2 separate regions of the Homo sapiens genome follow, and region 1 is linked to region 2. The links are contacts of gene promoters, found by promoter capture Hi-C in blood cells and fetal thymus (Javierre and others, 2016). All regions are on one chromosome and are shown on one strand. Each heading gives the region's core, a stretch centred on a gene start or on the middle of the fragment in contact. The rest is flanking DNA. Distances are from core to core; before and after follow the strand shown.

Evidence for each region. Contacts are between HindIII fragments. The CHiCAGO score rates a contact against its expected background, and 5 or more counts as called.
Region 1: a fragment that was not itself captured here is called in contact with the fragment with the promoter of TIMM17B in region 2 in 1 of 17 cell types (neutrophils); the score reaches 5.6 in neutrophils.

What each region holds. Positions count from the first base shown.
Region 1 is chrX:48,063,415-48,066,114 of GRCh38, reverse strand. All of the region lies in intron 2 of ZNF630 (zinc finger protein 630), which reads left to right. The region is part of intron 1 of ZNF630-AS1 (ZNF630 antisense RNA 1); the gene reads right to left. Among named protein-coding and RNA genes, the nearest start is that of ZNF630, 6.9 kb to the left of the region's middle. The HindIII fragment of the contact is 2,537 bases long and covers 169-2,700 here.
Region 2 is chrX:48,896,444-48,899,143 of GRCh38, reverse strand. It overlaps TIMM17B (translocase of inner mitochondrial membrane 17B), which reads left to right and starts at 1,376. Exons shown (of 6, transcript NM_001395498.1): 1 at 1,376-1,420; 2 at 2,286-2,385. The coding sequence starts at 1,395. PQBP1 (polyglutamine binding protein 1) reads right to left here and starts at 1,214. Exons shown (of 7, transcript NM_001032382.2): 1 at 1,062-1,214; 2 at 568-652. The coding sequence starts at 634. RefSeq lists enhancers at 551-770, 821-1,190, 1,481-1,680, 1,711-1,860. The HindIII fragment of the contact is 9,862 bases long and covers 1-2,700 here.

The DNA of each region.
Region 1 (2,700 bases), core at 188-2,687, 830 kb after region 2:
ATTGTCATGTATTTTTTCTTTACCACACACAAAAAATACACACACTGTTTCTATTCCGTTCTGCTACTTTCTTTTCTTGCCTAATATAAAATATATACGAAAGTAGAGATTTTAGTGAACCCTTTTGTAATTACCCATCTGCAAATATTATCAACTGATAACCAAGCTTGTTTTATCTATCTTTCATCCCCACCTACTCCTATCGTCATCATCATCATGATCTAGCCAATCCCTTGTTAATATTTTGTTTAGGGTTTATACTACTGTGTTCATAAGACATAAGGGCCTGTAATTTTACTTTCTTCTATTGTTTCTGTCACCTTTTGGTATCATGTTACATTGGCCTCATGTTGGAAAGTATTCTCTTTATATTCTCTGGGAAAATTTGGGTAATATTGGTACTATTTCCATCTTAAATTTTTTTTTTTTTTGAGATGGAGTTTCACTCTTGTCGCCCAGGCTGGAGTGCAATGGCACGATATCCGCTCATTGCAACCTCTGCCTCCCAGGTTCAAGCGATTCTCCTGCCTCAGTCTCCCAAGTAGCTGGGATTACAAGTGCCCGCCACCAAGTAGCTGGGATTACAAGTGCCTGCCTGCCTTCCTTCCTTCCTTCCTCCCTCCCTCCCTCCCTCCCTCTCTCTCTCTCTCTCTCTCTCTTTCTTTCTTTCTTTTTTTTTGAGACCGGGTTTCACCCCAGTTGCCCAGGCTAGAGTGCAGTGGCACTATCTTGCCTCACTGCAGCCTTGACCTCCCAGGCTAACTTTTGTATTTTTAGTAGAGATGGGGTTTCACCATGTTGGGCAGGCTGGTCTCGAATTCCTGGCCTCAGGTGATCCACCCACCTCGGCCTCCCAAAGTGTTGGGATTACAGGCATGAGCCACTGCGCCCGGCCTATTTCCTTCTTAAATGTTTGAAAGAGCTCCCCAGTGAAGCCATCAGGGTATGGAGTTTTCTTTGTGGGAAGGTTTTAAATTACATATTCAATTTATTTAAAAGATATACTACCATTCAGATTTTCTATTTCTTTTTATGTCTGGTTTGGTAAATTGTAATTTTCAAGTAATTTGTCCAGTTCCTCTAAGTCAGGGGTCAGCAAACTTTTTCTGTAGAGGGACAGATCGAAGTATCTGAGGCTTTGTGGGCCATACGGCCCCTGTTGCAACTATTCAAATCTGCTGTTTTAGGTAGAAAGCAGCTATTGACAATATGTAAACCAATGAGCCTGGCTGTGATTCAATAACACTTTATTTATGGATGCTGAAGGTTGGATTTCATATAATTTTCATGTGTCATAAAATATTCTTCTTTTGACTTTTTTTTCAATCATTAAAAATGTAAAAACCAGACCAGATACAGCTAGCTATTCACGCCTATAATCCCAGCACTTTGGGAGGCCAAGGTGGGCGGATTGCTTGAGCTCAGGAGTTCTAGACCAGCCTGGGCAGCATGGCGAAACCGCATCTCTACAAAAAAATACAAAAATTAACCAGGCATGGTGGCATGCGCCTGTGGTCCCAGCTACTCAGGAGGCTGATGTAGGAGAATCACTTGAGCCCGGGAGGAGGAGGTTGCAGTGAATCAAGACTGTTCCACTGTACTCCAGCTTGGCTGATAGAGCAAGACTGTCTCAAAAGAAAACGTGTAAAACCAGTTTAGCTTGTGGGCCATTGAAAAACACATGATGGGCTAAATTTGGCCTGCAGGCTATAGTTTGCTATGTCCTGATCTACATTGTCTACTGATGTACATTGTCAAATTAATGTCCATTAAATGTCCATTTAATGTTTGCAGGATACCAGAACCTTGTTGATGGGCTGTAAAAAAGTTATTTCTAGTTTTTCTTTTATATACAGTAGTAATAATAATAAGAAGAATCATAGCTACTATTTACTCAGTGCTTATCATGTGCCAGGCACTGCTATTATAAAATATCGTGGGATTAACTTATTTAATTCACCCAGGAACCCTCTGTGCTAGGTACCATTGTTATTCCCATTTTTCAGATGAAGAAAATGAGGCACAGAGATCACACAGCTAGTACATGACCTAACCAGACCTCTCAAGCAGTGAAGTCACAAATAAAACAACCATATAAAGATATCTTTTTATATTTGTGAAGTATTTGTGTAGGCCACATTCTCAGACATGAGTGTGCTAGGTCAGAGGCACACAGACTTATAAATTTAAAGAGTATTTTTCAAATCGTATATATATATATTTTTTTGAGACAAAGTCTCACTCTGTCCCCCAGGTTGGAGTGCAGTGGCATGATCTCAGCTCACTGTAACCTCCGCCTCCCAGGTTCAAGCGATTCTCATGCCTCAGCCTCCGGAGTAGCAGGGATTACAAGTGCCTGCCACCACGCCCGGCTAATTTTTGTATTTTTAGTAGAGACTGGGTTTCACCATGTTGGGCAGGCTGGTCTCGAACTCCTGACCTCAAGTGATCTGCCCACCTTGGCCTCCCAAAGTGCTGGGATTACAGGCATGAGCCACCCTGCCCAGCCCAAATTGTATTTCAATACTGTGTAATCAGCTGAACATGTGGCCACAAATTGTTTACAAGAAAGCCCACCTGTTTCCCAAGGTTCCCCCTCCCTCCTGCCACCATTAGCCATCATCTGTTTTTTTCATTCTTGTTGTTTTTATGATTAAGCATTATATCTCATTTTCATTTGCTTTTCTATAGGGATTAAAT
Region 2 (2,700 bases), core at 127-2,626:
CAGCCGGGTGTGGTATCACGTGCCTGTAATCCCAGCTACTTGGGAGGCTGAGACAGGAAAATCGCTTGAGCCCGGGAGGCGGAGGTTGCAGTGAGACGAGATCACGCCACAGCACTCCAGCCTGGGCGACAGACCGAGACTCTGTCTCAAAAAAAAAAAAAAAAAAATTGCCAGGTGTGGTGGGGCGGGGCGTGCCTGTAGTCCCAACTACTCGGGAAGTTAAGGCAGGAGAATCGCTTGAACCTGGAAGGCGGAGGTTTTAGTGAGCCGAGATCGCGCCACTGCACTCCAGCCTGGGTGCACAATAAGACTCTGCCTCAAAAAAAAAAAAAAAAAAAAAAAAAAAAAAAAAAAAAAAGAATGAAATATCTATTCCCCCAACCCCCTCCACTTGACACGCGGTAGGGATGGATGTCAGGAATCCACATTGTTAACAACGAAAAATGCCTGCCACCCCATTGCTTGGTGCACAGTTGGCCCATGCTAGGTATCAAGCGTCAGTATCAACAACAAAAGTGCCTGTCGAGGCTGGCACGTGTTAGGACCATCTGCTTTTAGCTGTCTCACCAGGCTCCAGATGTTTGAGGATGCCTCTCTTGGCCAAGCGGGTCTGCAGCGCAACGGGCAGCGGCATAGCTGATAGCAGACAGACCTAGGGACAGACGAACAAACTGACAAGCAGCTCAGATAAAGATTCCTATCTGGATCCCGTAACCAAGCGCCTCCCGTAAACATGTACTCATCTGACTCCGATCTACTCAAATGAACCAGTAGCTGGGTGGACAGAACATACGCACTAAAAGATGTAAGAGGTAGGTGGCAATATCATCGCAACTCCCACCAACCCTACTGTCCCCGAAACCAGGTGCTCCAGGGCCCTGTTCCTCTCCCAGGCCCAGGCTCCGCCCACAGCCTAAGAAGCCCGGCCCCTCCGCACTTCAGAAATGGGCTCATCCAGCGTCCCCATGACTGCCGGGTGGGAGAAACCAAAGCGCTGGGATGGGGGAGCAGAGGGCAGCACTTCCTCCAGCTCCAAAAGAGTGCACCCACCCCAACGTTACCAATACACTCGTGCAGGTAGTGGAAGGCTGTCACACCGCCCGTCTCTCTCGTGTCGCCGCTACGATACCTGGGCCCACACGACTCTCTTCCCAAAACACCGAATGAGACCTTCTCTCAACGAGGCCTTCACTCCCCGAGCCTGAAAGTAACTGGACTACGCTCAGGAGGCAATGAACAAATGGCAGAAACTCGATTGGCCAATGAGAGTGCGTCCTTGGCGTGACATGCGGTATAGCGACCCAATCGCTGCCCGGTAATAGGCGGAAAGCTCCGACGCCGGTGTGCGTCTACGCTGGGGGCGTGGCCTGACTGCGCGGCCAGACGCCAGCGCCATGGAGGAGTACGCTCGGGAGCCCTGGTACGGCAATGGGCACAGGCATCCGGAATATTGCTGCGACGCCAAGGCCAGCCGTGGGGGTCGGGCGGGGGAGGCATCGGCCGCACAGAGCCATGTACCAGACTCGGGGGACTCTTAACGTATCTCCCGCTACCCCCACTCGGTTCCTGTCATTCGGGCTCCGTTATGAGGGGCCACAACCAGAGAAGGTGCGGCGAAGGCCGAACCACGCCATGTTTCTCCTGACTTCGTAATCTCCTAGCCCTGTTAACGAAAAAAGACACGCTGGACGATCCATCCCGGCTAGGGGTGGTACGGTGTTGACCGGAAATCCCCAGAGTTGCCGCCAGTGGTTTTTCCCAGGTCGCCTTTGTCAGTGGGGGGCGGGGCACGGATGAACCTGTTGAGGGCCGGCGGGGACGGTGGATGCTTCCCGCGGTCGCTCTTGGTTTTTCCCAGTTGTGCCGGATTGAAAAGGGGCGGGGCATGGTTGGACGGGCTCACCGTCGGAGAAGGGGTGCGACGCGGTCCTGCTTTGCTGACAGTCTGTCTTGGCTAGTTAACACGCCTATGTCGCTTATTGAAACGTCAACTCTGCGTGTGCCAATTCATTTAATCTTTGATCACAGTAAAACCGTTGGCTGATTCCTTGGTTGGTAGACAGGGCGAAGACTAATATTTCTCCCCCTTTGCCCCATTTCTCGCTTTAATGGGGGGGTGTGTGGAAAAAGCGTGACAGAACTAGCTCATTATTATCTGAAGTGTTTGTTCCTACTTAGGAACTTCCCATTCTGGTGACTTGGTTTCTCCCAGTTAGAAAAGAGTTCGTGTGACAGGACCTGGGGGAGGGCTCACATTAACCCCGTCCTTCCCTTCCTGCTTGCAGCCCATGGCGAATTGTGGATGATTGCGGTGGAGCCTTCACTATGGGTGTCATCGGTGGCGGAGTCTTCCAGGCCATCAAGGGTTTCCGCAATGCCCCTGTTGTGAGTCCAGGCCTTCCCTGGGTTGGTGTGGGGTTAGCTATCTTGCCCACAAGGGAGGCTGCTCTGAAAACTGCTTGGAGCTGCCAGTCACGTGCACTTATTCATTCTGGTGCCCACTCACCTACTATGTGCCGAGCCTGGCTCCTGTATCTGGGATTTTGTAGGGATTGCAAACATGGCCTCTGTCTTCCACCCTCCACCCCACCCAACTGGAGCTCCTCTGTGGAAATGCTGTGTCGTTCAAAGAGTCATCACCAAATTTTAAATGTATGTGCAAAGCCAGACAGTTTTTTTTTTTTTTGAGACAGTCTTGCT